Regions from separate parts of the Homo sapiens genome. Here region 2 is linked to region 1. The links are contacts of gene promoters, found by promoter capture Hi-C in blood cells and fetal thymus (Javierre and others, 2016). All regions are on one chromosome and are shown on one strand. Each heading gives the region's core, a stretch centred on a gene start or on the middle of the fragment in contact. The rest is flanking DNA. Distances are from core to core; before and after follow the strand shown.

The links. The method cuts DNA at HindIII sites, captures the fragments that hold promoters and counts their contacts. A CHiCAGO score of 5 or more calls a contact.
Region 2: a fragment that was not itself captured here is called in contact with the fragment with the promoter of SECTM1 in region 1 in 4 of 17 cell types (M1 macrophages, M0 macrophages, M2 macrophages and 1 more); the score reaches 6.4 in M1 macrophages.

The regions. Positions count from the first base shown.
Region 1 is chr17:82,329,814-82,336,697 of GRCh38, reverse strand. It overlaps SECTM1 (secreted and transmembrane 1), which reads left to right and starts at 2,932. Exons shown (of 5, transcript NM_003004.3): 1 at 2,932-2,998. RefSeq lists enhancers at 1,509-1,578, 3,626-4,428 and a silencer at 4,305-4,589. The HindIII fragment of the contact is 7,811 bases long and covers 1-5,187 here.
Region 2 is chr17:82,420,068-82,426,951 of GRCh38, reverse strand. HEXD (hexosaminidase D) reads right to left here. Exons shown (of 13, transcript NM_001330542.2): 3 at 2,449-2,558. HEXD-IT1 (HEXD intronic transcript 1) reads right to left here and starts at 1,627. Exons shown (of 1, transcript NR_170223.1): 1 at 348-1,627. It overlaps LOC124904091 (a long non-coding RNA gene), which reads left to right. Exons shown (of 3, transcript XR_007065958.1): 3 at 500-1,040. RefSeq lists an enhancer at 2,134-2,969. The HindIII fragment of the contact is 7,971 bases long and covers 1-6,884 here.

The DNA of each region.
Region 1 (6,884 bases), core at 1,683-4,182:
ACGAGTTATCTTCGGGACATTAGGAGGAAGCCCCACAGGCTGCAGTCACGTGGGTGGGCAAGGATGAAAGGCAAGGGAACCCAGAGAATCAAGTTACAAAGAAAAGCAAATGCCGCCAGCACAGTGGCTCACGCCTGTAATCCCAGCACTTTGGGAGGCCGAGGCGGGTGGATTGCCTGAGCTCAGGAGTTCAAGAAAAAAAAAGCCTGGCTAACATAGTGAAACCCGTCTCTACCAAAAATAAAATAAATAAATAAATAAAAGCTGGGCGTGGCGGCACGTGCCTGTAGTTCCAGCTACTCAGGAGGCTGAGGTAGGAGAATCGCTTGAACTAGGGAGGCGGAGGTTGCAGTGAGCCGAAATCGCACCACTGCACTCCAGCCTGGGCGACAGAGCAAGACTCTGTCTCCAAAAAAAAGAAAAGCAAATGCTCCAGGACCTTGGGGATTTTAAGAATATGCTGCCGAATAATTTGGAGAGTTAAACAGAAAATCATAACTGAAATCTACAAATTCCTCGAACAGAAAGGAAATGAAACTCCACATGTCACCTGGCACAGCAGAGGCTGTGATTCAAGGACAGGCTGAGGGTGAATGAATCCACACATCCGCTCTAAGATGCCTGATCCCAGCATTGTATAGAAATGGAAAGATACGGCCGGGTGCAGTGGCTCACGCCTGTAATCCAGCACTTTGGGAGGCCAAGATGGGCGGATCACAAGGTCAGGAGATCCAGACCATCCTGGCTAACACGGTGAAACCCCGTCTCTACTAAAAATACAGAAAAATTAGCTGGGCGTGGTGGCGGGCGCCTGTAGTCCCAGCTACTCAGGAGGCTGAGGCAGGAGAATGGTGTGAACCCAGGAGGCAGAGCTTGCAGTGAGCCGAGATTGCGCCACTGCACTCCAGCCTGGGCGACAGAGCGAGACTCCGTCTCAAAACAAAAAAAAGAAATGGAAAGATACTGCCCAGATGTGGTGGCTCACACCTGTAACCCCAGCACTTTGGGAGGCCAAGGCAGGCGGACCACCTGAGGTCAGGAGTTCGAGACCAGCTTGGCCAACATGATGAAATCCTATTTCTACTAAAACTACAAAAATTAGCTGGGCGTGGTGATACATGCCTGCAATCCCAACTACTCAGAAGGCTGAGGTGGGAGAATCAGTTGAACCTGGGAGGCAGAGGTTGCAGTGATCGAGACTGCAGCACTGCACTCCAGCCTGGGCAACAGAGACTCCGTCTCAAAAAAAAGAAAGAAATAAACGTGAGTGGATGGCTGTGCTGTTTGTATGGACCAGGAAAACTTCTAGAAGGATAGGTAAGGCAGTGTCCATAACTCAACCTGGGAATTGAAGCCAGGGTGGGGAGGAAAAGGCAACAGTTGGTTTCATTCTATTTTGTTTCTGTGCCTGTATTACTTCCAAAATAAACAAACTAGTTTCACTTTCACAACATGAAATGCTTTATCAGGATATGCGTTTTCCTCCAACCCCCAGTGGTGTCCCCTCACGGGACAAAAGCCTGCCAGCCTTCAGCTGCCCTCCAGAGCCTCACGGTGCAGGTGCTCCTGCCTAAGCAGCCGGACCCCCCTGCCCCCAGGAACTGCAGCCCCCTCTGAGTTGAGAGATCTAGTAGGCAGGAAAAAAGGAGAAGGAAGCTGTGGCTGCTGGGGGATGTGGCCTCGGGGACAAGCCCCTCTGTGCAGAGGACGTGGGCAGGTGGGATTTCAGCCCCCTCTCCAGCATCTCACTGGCAGCCAGGGTGGCTGGGGTTTCCCCGAGGGCGGGGGCTGGGGAATCTGACCTCTGTGCCCCGGCCATGGTGCCGTCTTGCTGGGAGGATGACAGGCTGTGTTTCACCTGCCAATTTGGCGACAGTTTCTCTTTTGGAACATCCCGGGGGACTTTGTTCTGTGCCACCCACCTCTGGACCCTGGGTCTGATGGCTGAGCTGCAGGCTCCAAGGTTCAGCGTCCAGTCTGGCCCTGCTCCGTCCATTCCCCACATTTGAGGGTTTCCCGGAGTTTGGTTCTGCTTCTTCCTCTCTTCCATGAAACTGGGGGCATTGCCCACGCCCCAGTGTCCCCCATCATCTGCCCGGTGGGGACTTGCCCACTCACGTGACTGCAGCCTGTGGGGCCTCCTCCTAGTGTCCCGAAGATACCTGGTCATCCTTGACCCCGCCCGCACCTGCCCGCGTGCCCCCTCGGGTTCTAGTGGAGGACGTGGCCCGCCTGCCACCCCGCCAGGCGCCGGGTCCTCCAGGCCTCCTCGAGCCACCTCCTGCCCACCTGGGATGTCTGTGGGTTCCCGGCCCGGATGCGTCTTGGAGCCTTCTACCCGCACCCCAATCTCCTGCCCCAACAGGCTGGGCCCCTCCTCCCGGGCTGGCCAGGCCAGCACCTCCGCAGGGGCCGCAGGACGCCTGAAGGCCCAGGCCGCAGGTGCAGGACCCTCTGCGGGGGAGCTGGGGGACATCACTCCTCTGCTCTGCGCGCTTTTATGAAAGGGCCTCTGACCCTCCGGGGGTCCAGCTCACTCTGCCCGCGCACTCCCAGGCATCTGGGGGCCGCCCCCCGCCCTCCCTCCCCGCGGCCCACTCGGCCCGCCCAGCTCGCCCCGTGCACAGACTCGAGGCCTCCAGGAGCGGAGCCAAACAGCCCCGCGGGGAACGCGCGCCGCACGCGAGCTGGACCCGCCCAGGCACGAACTCTCCTGGAAAAATGCTCCCGGCGGCTTTCCTGCTTCCTTTAGCGTGAACCGCGGGTGCGGTGCCTCCCGTGAAAATAATAAATTCACCGTCACGCTTGTTGTGAACGCGGGTGGTTCCCGAAACTTGGAGGCTTCCCGTAAACCCAGCTCCTTCCTCATCTGGGAGGTGGGTCCCGCGCGGGTCCGCCGCCTCCTCCCTGGCCCCTCCCTCTCGTGTCTTTCATTTTCCTGGGGCTCCGGGGCGCGGAGAAGCTGCATCCCAGAGGAGCGCGTCCAGGAGCGGACCCGGTGAGGCGCGGAGAGGGGCGGGCGGGGGAACCAGAGGGGCGGGCTCGGTGCTGGGGACTCGGTGCTGGGGACTCGGTGCTGGGGACTCGGTGCTGAGGGCCCGGTGCTGGGGACTCGGTGCTGGGGGCTCGGTGTTAGGGCCTCTTGGTGCACTGGGGTTGCCGGTCCGCGCAGGGATGGGGACTCTGGGGCTGCGGCGCCTCTGCCTCTGGGACCGTCACCCCCCGCTGGCCCTGAGCGTGCGTCGCAGGCCAGGCGGGCGGGGTCGCAGCGGGCGTACCCGAGTATGGGCGGGAACGAGCTGCCGGCCGGTGTGGGGACCCGCGTCCCTGCCCTGTGCGCCAGGCTCGACTCTTGAAGGGACAGAGGCGGCGTCTCGGACCCGGGGCTCCCCTAAGTCCGATGGGTCGGAGCCCCCTCCTCCCTTCCCGGTCCTCGGCCTCACCCGGGGTTCCCTGCGCCGTCGCTGCGACCAAGCTGGGAGCAAAACGCACTCGCTCATATGCGTGCACACAAGCTGGTGGACACACGCACATGAGCACACGCAGGCACGCGTGGACTGTTGCACACTCCACAGCCACAGCCTCGTGTGCACTCACAGCAAACTCATGAAACAGGAACCGTGAGGCTTCCCTCACCCGGCAGGCCCTCAGCTGCCCGTTCTCACGCGGGTTTTGCTGACTCCGCAGTAATCACCACATTCAGTTCCTTGCCCACTACTGGTGAATCACCTGCAGCTTGAGAAGCACGTTTTCTGCCGGTGGTCAGCAGAGGATCCCCGGCTTCTAGGAGGCCCAGGGCGACCGGCTGCAGGAGCCCGCGTAGGAGGCCTGTCTCCAGCAGGGCGGGGGTGGTGGCAGGGCCTCTCCACGGGGCTGCTGCTGAGCCCAGAGCGGGAGGACAGGAGGCCACCAGCAGAGGGGACAGGTGAACAGGTGCTGAGCAGGAAGGGTTAGCCCGGTCTAGCCCCAGGCCTGGGGGGCTTTGCTGCTCACCTGGGGTCCCCTCTGGGCCTGGCTCAGCAGAGACCAGGGCAGAGCCGTCCACACCGTGGGCCTGGGTGGGGTCCATGGCCTCTGCAGGCTGCAGCTGTCTTCTGAGAGGTGTTGGTGTGCTCATTCTCGGTAGAGACGTGGGGTCACCTGTGTTCCCTGAGCCCCTGCAGCAGCTGGGAAAGCAGTGTCAGCCACCCCTCAGGTGCTGTGGGGGTACAGAGTCCACTGACCACACAGGAGGACCCCAATGAACCCAGCCCGAGGGGGCCGGAGCTTCCACACACCCAGCACCCATGGGAGCCGGGACAGGCAGGCGCCCGGGGCACCAGGGAGCGGGAACAGGCATGCGCAGGCGTGCTGGGCGGTGCGTGAACTTTCCTAGGCGTGTCACTGGCATGGCTCCAAGCCTGCGCATCATCGCTTGTCAGGGAGCACTCAGACCCTGCCGTGTCTGGTGCCGGCGCCTCAGATACCGACCCCTGTGTTCGTGGTTTGAGAGAAATCTGATTGCCGCCTCCATCTTTTCCCGCTCTAGAAGTTTGTTTTTTGTTTTGTTTGGTTTGAGACGGAGTTTCGCTCTTGTTGCCCAGGCTGGAATGTAGTGGCCAGATCTTGGCTCACCACAACCTCCACCTCCCTGGTTCAAGCGATTCTCCTGCCTCAGCCTCCCAAGTAACTGGGATTACAGGCGTGCACCACCACGCCCGGCTAATTTTTTTGTATTTTTAGTAGAGACGGGGTTTCACCACGTTGTTCAGACTGGTCTCAAACTCCCGACCTCAGGTGATCCACCTGCCTCAGCCTCCCAAAGTGCTGGGATTGCAGGCATGCGCCACCGCGCCCGGCCCACTCTAGAAGTTTTGAGGCTCCGTGCGCCTCGTCTCCCTGTACCTGGTCTCCCTGTGCCAGGTCTCCCTGTGCCACACACGGAGCTGCCCGGCCAGTCACCGCCCACCTGGCCACTTTCCCTGGGGCCGCGCCCTGCCGCCTGCCCTCTCTCTGATTTTTAGCCACTGCGTGGCATTCAACTCAAGCCCACGCCTCTGGTCAGGAGGATGGCAGGAGAGGACTCAGGCAGACGGGCAGAGTGGCAGAGCTGCCAACAAAAACGCAGGATACCCAGTAACATCTGAGTTTGAGATCGTTAATCGTGTTTTAATATAAGTGTGTCCCGAGTGTCCCACGGGACAAGCTTTCACCAGGACATCATTGGTTGTTTATCTGAGACTCAGATGTGACCAGATGTGCCTGGTGACCTGAGAGGGGCCTGTGTTGCCAGGGTGCGTTTTCTTCTGATAAACGGAGCAAATTCCCACAGCAACCCAAAGTCGCTGACACCTGCTGCCCAGACAGAGCTGGGGCCACGCATGGTCCGCAGCCTGAAGCCTCGGGGTAGAGCCAGACCTGCCGCTCTCCTCCCGGTCTCCCCCCAGCTCCCTACCCCCTGAGCCCTTCAAAGTCATTCTCAAGCCAAAGACAGGGGTCTTCCAGGCCCAGGGCTCCCCTCCACGGCTGACTCATTCCACACCTTTCCCGCCACTTGCCGGGTGTGGACCGACAGGAAGGGCACCGCCACCTGCTCCTAGTACCCTCCAGCCCATCCCTTGCCGCCCTTCACCCCTGGCTGGACAAGGGTCAGGGTCGCCAACATTGGAGGGCACTCAGTGGGGAGCTGGTGAAGGTGCTGGGAGGAAGGGAGGACCGGGGAGAGGCAGTGAGAGGACCCGCGTGTGAGAAGCAGCGGCCGCCACCACAGTTGGGCTAAAGGGACTTGGTGGGGAGGCAGCATCTCCGGAACGGTGCAGTCCAGGCCGCCAGGGGCTGAGACCATGGAGAGGATGAGGCCAGAAAGACGGACAGTGCCAGCTTCTCACTCCCACCCCCCTCTCCCCAACCACTGCAGCCCAGGGCCCCAGGTCTTCAGGAAGCAATCGGCAGGGAGGCTAGGAGCCAGCACTGCAGGGTCCACCCTCGGTGGCAGAGGCATCTAGGAGCAGCTGTAGCCCCCGAGAGCAGAGGCTCCACCGAGCTGCTGGCCCCATGGAATGCACAGCGGGCAGACTTGGGACACTCAGGGTGGAGGGGAGGCAGATGCAGCCACTGCCAGGCGGGAGGAGCTTGGCATGAAGCCAGGTGCGTGCAGCTGGCCCTTGGGGGCCTCCAGGACCCAGCTGCTGAGGTCTGGCTCAGGGTGCAGCTCTCTGCCGAGTCAGGGCTGACTCAGGACACAGACGGGTGGCAGAGCCAGCACCTGGGTGGGCAGGTGGGGTGGACGCAGCGCTGTCGGGGCTCTCTGGGGATCTGTGACCTTTGGCTGTGTGCCCAGAATTCCCACCCCTAACACATGGCAGGGGCAGTCCCTGGAAGCATTTGTGAAACAGACTCAGATGGCCTCCAGGCTCCAGGTGAGGGCAGGACTCCCCAGAGCAGCCTGGGGAGAGCAGCAGGGCATCCCCTCCCGGACACGGTCGGCGGGGTGGTGCGGAGAGCAGTGGGGGAGCCCCCAGCAGCCCCGACCCTCCCTGCTGTCCATCTGCACGGTTCCAAGGTGGGTGGCTGAGCTGGCATCGTGGAGCGTGGGGTGAGGGAGCCGGACCCAGGCCCCCTGGGGTCTCCTTGTGTGAACCTCACCTCCATGCAGGGGTCTGCAGGTGGCCTGGGTCTCCCACCGCACTGGGGGTGGGGGTTCTGTGGTCGGCTACCAGTCCCCAAAGATGTCACGTCCTCATCCCAGAACCTGACATGGCAAAGAGACTATGCAGATGGGATGAAGCCTCGGGTGCTGAGCTGGGGCATGTGTCCTGGGTCACCCAGGGGGGCCCTTGATGCCATCACAGGGTCTCCAGGAGAGGGAGAGAGGAGGGGGAGTCAGGGAGATGAGGGAAGCAGCT
Region 2 (6,884 bases), core at 2,010-4,509, 90 kb before region 1:
GTGTTAGCCAGGATGGTCTCGATCTCCTGATCTTGTGATCCGCCTGCCTCGGCCTCCCAAAGTGCTGGGATTACAGGCGTTAAGCCACCGCGCCTGGCCACGCCCAGCTAATTTTTGTATTTTTTTTGGTAGAGACAGGATTTTGCCATGTTGGTCAGGCTGGTCTCAAACTCCTGACTTCATGATCCGCCTGCCTCAGCCTCCCAAAGTGCTGGGATTACAGGCGTGAGCCACAGCGCCCAGCCCAAGTCTTATAATTTTTAAAAAAGGCTTACCAGTTTGGTAGCCAGGATGGTGTTGCATTATTGATTTAGTTTCTTTGATTTGAGTACTATGAGGGTTTAACATTTTCTTTCTTTCTTTCCTTTTCTTTTGAGACAGGCTCTGGCTCTGTTGCCCAGGTTGGAGTGCAGTGGCGCCATCTCAGCTCACTGCAGCCTCTGGGTCCTGGGTGTTAATCCAAACTGCACCATTTTGTAAGCCCCCTGCTGTTTTCCAGACCCAGGTTGAAGTGAAACATTCCACGGGGTTTGGGCTGTGAGGAACATCCTGCCCAACATCCTGACCACACGGCCCAGGAACATCCCGACCACCCGACCACACGGCCCAGGAACATCCCGAACATACCTTGCTGGGCAAAGGCCCAGCTGAAGGAACATCCTGATCATATTCTGCTGGGAACAAGGACCCAACTGCCTCATCATGGGAACATCTCTCAACATCTTCCCAGGCAGAAGCCCTACTGCCCAAACCCCTCCCGTCCAGGCCTGTAAGTACCCCAGCCTGTAAGCGGCGGTGGGCTCTGGCATTAAGCTGGTCCCCCCTCTGTAGGTTTCTGCACTATACCTCTGTTGCTGTAGAGACGCCCTCTCTCTCTCTGTCTTTCTTTAACCCTCGCCTTCCCTTTAAAAAAACCTAACACCAGGCTCAAGCCATCCTCCTATCTCAGCCTCCTGAGTAGCTTGGACTACAGCCCCATGCCACTATCCATGGCTATTTTTTGCATTTTATGTAGAGATGGGGTTTCACCATGTTGCCCAGGCTGGTCTCGAACTCCTGAGCTCAAGTGATCCACCCACCTCGGCCTCCCAAAGTGCTGGGATTATAGGCGTGAGCCACTGCACCCGGCCTAATTTTTGTATTTCACATAGAGATGGGGTTTTACCATGTTACCCAGGCTGGTCTCAAACTCCTGAGCTCCAGTGATCTGCCCACCTTGGCCTCCCAAATTGCTGGGATTACAGGCGTGAGCCACTGCTCCTGGCCTTCACATTTTCTTATATGCTTATTGGCCTTTTTTGTTTCTTCCTTTGGGATTGGCCAGTTAATGTCCATTGTGCATTTATCTTTGGGGCCGTTATTGATTTTCACAGAGACCTGTGATTTTAGCATTAAGCAGGGGCCTCCCATCTCCACCACACCTGATTTTATTGATTTTGATTCTCTCCCCTTTAATTCTTCTCTTCTCTAACTCAAGGCTCAACTGTGGCCTGAAGAGCAGCCCCTCCCTGCGCGGAGGCCTCCTCCAGCATCCTCCAGCCTTCTCTAGCTCAGCCTTCTACAGCCTCCTCCAGCCTTCTCCAGCCTCCTCTGACCTTCCCTGGCCTCCTCCAGCCTTCTCTAGCCCAGCCTTCTCTGGCCTTCTCTAACCTTATCTAGCCTTCTCTAACCTCTAGCCCAGCCTTCTCCAGCCTTCTCCAGCCTTCTCTAGCCTCCTCCGGCCTTCTCTAGCCCAGCCTCCTCCAGCCTCCTCCAGCCTTCTCCGGCCTCCTCCAGCCTCCTCCAGCCTTCTCTAGCCTCCTCCAGCCTTCTCCAGCCTTCTCTGGCCTCCTCCAGCCTCCTCCGGCCTTCTCTAGCCCAGCCTCCTCCAGCCTTCTCCAGCCTTCTCCAGCCTTCTCTGGCCTCCTCCAGCCTCCTCCAGCCTTCTCTAGCCTCCTCCAGCCTTCTCCGGCCTTCTCTAGCCCAGCCTTCTCTGGCCTTCTCTAACCTTCTGTAGTCCAGCCTTCTCCAGCCTTCTCCAGCCTTCTCTAGCCTTCTCCAGCTTTCTCTAGCCTTCTCTAGCCCAGCCTTCTCTGGCCTTCCTTCTCTGGCCTTCTCTAACCTTCTCTAACCTTCTCTAACCTTCTGTAGTCCAGCCTTCTCCCATCAACAGAAGAAACGCCTGCAGGACAGAGACAGGAACTGCAGCTCTTCCCTGTAGGGGGCGCTGCTGATGCTTACTTTCCCTTTAAATGTTTCAAAATTCTCTCCAGTGAATGTTTGAAATGAAACTTTGTTTTCATACAATTAAAGAGATGAATTTAAAAAGACAAAAAAGGAATGTACCCACCACTGTTCAGTTCCTGACTGTGCCACCCGCACCTCCAGGTTGCTGCTCCTCCTGCCCTGCGGAACCCCCCCTTCCCCGCTTTCACGCCGCGCCCCTGTACCTGCCACGGGCAGTGTTACCTGTAGGCGTACTTGGCCCTCAGCAGCCTCAGAGGGCCCTCGTAGGGAAACATGTCTTCATACTCAATGAGGAGGCCGTTTGCACCTAGCGCACGGAACAGAGGAAAAATCTGGGGGGTAAACAGGGAGGGGTTAGGAAGAAGTGGCTGCTGGAGCACGATGTGGCAAGTCCACAGCAGGGAGACGCCTTCCCTTTCAGCCTGTGGAGACTGTGGGAGTTGCTACTTCTATTTCTCCTGGGAACCTTAAATCCGGAATGTGTACTTTACGTTATGCCAAATGAAACTCCCCGTTCCAGTGACTATTTTGCACAGAAGGGGAGATATGCTATGAAACAGGGCTGCTACTCAACGCGCTGGTGGCTCAGCTTGGGAGGGACGGGTCCGGCCAGCAGGGAGCCACCAAGAAGCAGCTCTTCATGCACGGCGGCCCAGCAAGGCAGCCAGGCTGAGGGGCACCAGCAAGGCATGGGGGACAGGGCAGCCAGGCTGAAGGAGAATGGCAAGGCATGGGGGACGGGGCAGGAGGAGCCGGGGCAGGGGGAGCAGGGCTCTGAAGGGTTGGGGTCAGCACCTGGGGGAGGTGAGAGAGGGGTGCAGAACTCATTCGTTCCTGGTCTGTACTCATGGGGTCCCTTCCCCCTTATTCTCCTCCCCACTTCCTTGTCTTTCTCTCTTTTTTTTTTTTTTTTGAGATGGAGTCTCGCTCTCTCGCCCAGGCTGGAGTGGAGTGGCGTGATCTTGGCTCGTTGCAACCTCTGCCTCCCGGGTTCAAGCGATTCTCCTGCCCCAGCCTCCCGAGTAGCTGGGATTACAGGCGCCCGCCCCGATGCCCAGCTAATTTTTGTATTTTTAGTAGAGACGGGGTTTCACCATGTTGGCCAGGCTGGTCTCGAACTCCTGACCTCAGGTAATCTGCCCCTCGGCCTTCCAAAATGCTGGGATTACAGGTGTGAGCCACTGTGCCCGGCCTCTCTCTTTTTTTTAACAGATGGGGTCTCACTCTGTTGCCCAGGCTGGAGCGTGCTGGCATGATCATGGCTCGCTGCAGCACCCAACTCCTGGGCTCAAGTGATCCTCCAGCCTCAGCCTTCCAAGGAGCTGGGACTACAGGCACATGCTAGGCCTCCTGGATGACACACATGCAGGAGAACTAAGGAGCCCCAGCTGACAGTTGGGATGAACTGCCGGACATGGAAGGCCACGCGGACCATCAGAGGTTTCTAGATGTTACGGGGCTGTGACCACCTGAGGGCACCTCGGTCAGAAAAGCAGAATCACGCAGCCAACCCACAGAAACACAAGGGGTGATGAATGGGGACCTCAAGTTTGGGGAGATCTGTCACGCAGCAACAGATGATGGAAACAGGGACTCCAGCTGTGTGTAAGTTGGATCTTCTTTGCCTATATTCAATTGTCAGAACGCCTTTCCTTTCTTTTTTTTTTTGAGATGGAGTTTTGCTCTTGTCCCCCAGGATGGAGTGCAGTGGCACGATCTCAGCTCACCACAACCTCCGCCTCCCGGGTTCAAGCAATTCTCCTGCCTCAGTCTCCCGAGTAGCTGAGATTACAGGCACCTGACACCACGCCTGGCTAATTTTTGTATTTTTAATAGAGACAGGGTTTCACCATGTTGGTCAGGCTGGTCTCGAACTCCTGACCTCAGGTGATCCACCCTCCTCAGCCTCCCAAAGTGCTGGGATTATAGGCATGAGCCACCGCGCCTGGCCCAAGTCAAAATGCCTCTTCATCAGCTGTATGTAAGTTCAGTCTTCTTTGCCATATTCAATTTGTCAGAACGCCTTTTCATCTCTGTTTGCTTTTTTCTTTTCTGTCATCTGTTTCCAAATACTGCACTTTCCATGGTGTCTACTCACTTGTACACTTCTTATAGTTTAGTCTTCATTAAAAACATTGTTTTTTCCTTATAATTCATTTCTGAGCTCCACAGGCAATTTTTTACAACCTCCTTTTGTCTGATTACCACATTTCTGGGCTTTTTTTTTTTTAGACTGAGTCTTGCTCTATCGCCCAGGCTGGAGTGCAGTGGCACGATCTTGGCTCACTGCAACCTCCACCACCCAGGTTCAGGTGATTCTCATGCCTCAGCCTCCCAAGTAGGTGGGATTACAGTTGTGAGCCGCTGAGCCTGGCCTGGGCTTTTCTATTTCTGATTTATGCTGTTCTTTCACAGCTTCCGTCATCTTCTGAGTATCTTTTATCTTGTTATGAAATATTATGGAACAGTGTTTCCTGCTGGGTGGGCCTGTGTGTCTGGAGCACCTTCACTGCTGCAATGCTATTCAGATCATCTTCTTTTTTCTTTTTTTTTTTTTTTGAGACAGAGTCTCACTCTTGTCACCCAGGCTGGAGCGCAGTGGCACAATCTCGGCTTACTGCAACCTCCACCTCCCAGGTTCAAGTGATTCTCCTGCCTCAGCCTCTCGAGTAGCAGGATTACAGGCGCCGCCACCACACGGGGCTAATTTTTGGTATTTTTAGTAGAGACACTGTGTTGGCCAGGATGGTCTTCATCTCCTGACCTTGTGATCCACCTTCCTCGGCCTCCCAAAGTGCTGGGATTACAGGCGTGAGCCACCGTGCCTGGCCTTCTTTTTTCTTACCTATCTTTGTATGATGTTAAACAACACTCTTTTTTGCTTCTTTTTTTCTTTTTTTGAGATGGTGTCTTGCTCTGTCACCTTGGCTGGAGTGCAGTGGCGCAATCTTGGCTCACTGCAACCTCTGCCTCCTGAGTTCAAGCAATTCTCCTGCTTCAGACTCCCAAGTAGCTGGGACTACAGGCATGTGTCACCATGCCTTGCTAATTTTTGTATTCTTAGTAGAGACGGGGTTTCTCCATGTTGCCCAGGCTGGTCACAAGCTCCTGACCTCAGGTGATCTGTCCGTCTTGGCCTCCCAAAGTGCCTGGATTACAGACGTGAGCCACCATGGCCAGCCTGTTGCTCATTTTTAAGAACAGGCTCTTGTGTTTGCAATGGTGACAGGCCAGCCTCAAGGCCCCCTCCTCTACTGCTGCCACGCGGTATTAGAAACTGCAGGCTCTGTGTAGCTGCTTCTGCAGTGTTTTTTGACCTCCACCTCTTCTGGACGCCTTTCCCCAGGACCTTTCCCTTCGCTGTTCCTGCCCAGTTCAATGTGGATGCTTTCCCTGTTTTGTCCTTAGTGGGGGGCGCTGTTCCTCTGGAAGGAAGTTTTGTTACGTATTTCTGAGAGTTTTGCAGCCTTGGGCCTCCCCTGCACCCTCCTGGATGTTTCATTACGTATTTCTGACAGCCTTGCAGCCTCGGCCTCCCCTGCACCCTCCTTTAAGTCTCTTTGCACTCAATCTCAGACGGGAGCCATTAAAACTCTGCCCCACTTCTCGCTATGGGAGACCTTTACTTACTTTTGAGGCTATTTTCTGGGTCCTCTGGTCATAGCACTGTTGGAGTTTCCCTCTTTCCTCTGTTACCTCCTGCTTGGCCACTAACCCCATACAGGTGTTATTCTGTCTGTGGTTTGGTCCCACCCACTTGTAGTTTGGGATCCATGGGGACACCCTGATACCTAATTTTGTTGAAGAGTGTCTTAGTTTTCTAGGGCTGCTGTAATAAATGACCATAAACTGGGTGGCTTGGCCGGGTGCGGTGGCTCACACCTGTAATCCTAGCACTTTGGGAGGCTGAGGCGGGTGGATCACGAGGTCAGCAGTTCAAGACCAGCCTGGCCAATGTGGTGAAACCCCGTCTCTACTAAAAATACAAAAATTAGCCAGGCATGGTGGCAGGCACCTGTAATCCCAGCTACTCCAGAGGCTGAGGCAGGAGAATTGCTTGAACCCGGGAGGTGGAGGTTGCAGTAAGCCGAGACTGCGCCATTGTACTCCAGCCTGGATGACAGAGCGAGACTCCGTCTCAAAAAACAAACAAACAACTGGGCGGCTTGACACAACAGAAATTTATTCTCTCACAGTTCTGGAGGCCCTAAGTCCAAAATCCAGGTGTCAGCAGACCCAGCTCTCCCTGAAGGCTGAAGAGGAGGACCCTTCCTTGCTTCTCTCTAGCTTCTGGTGATCGTCAGCTGTCCTCGGCATCCTGGGGTTCGTGGCACGTCATGACCATCTTGGCTGCTGGCACCGCGGGGCATCCTCCTGGGTCTTCACACTGCCTTCCCTCCGTGTGTCTCAGGCTCTAAATTTCCCTCTCCTCATAAGGATGCCAATCACTGGATTAGGGTTCACCATATTCTAGTACAACTTCATCTTATTTTGATTACATCTGCAAAGATCCTATTTCCAAATAAGGTCTCATTCACAGGTCCCAGGGGTTAAGACTTGAACATATCTTTTTGGAAAGATACACTTCAACCCAAAAGAAAGAAGCTGTGAGTTTCTTTTGTTCTCTGTCTTTTTTTTTTTTCCCTTTTGTCATCCTG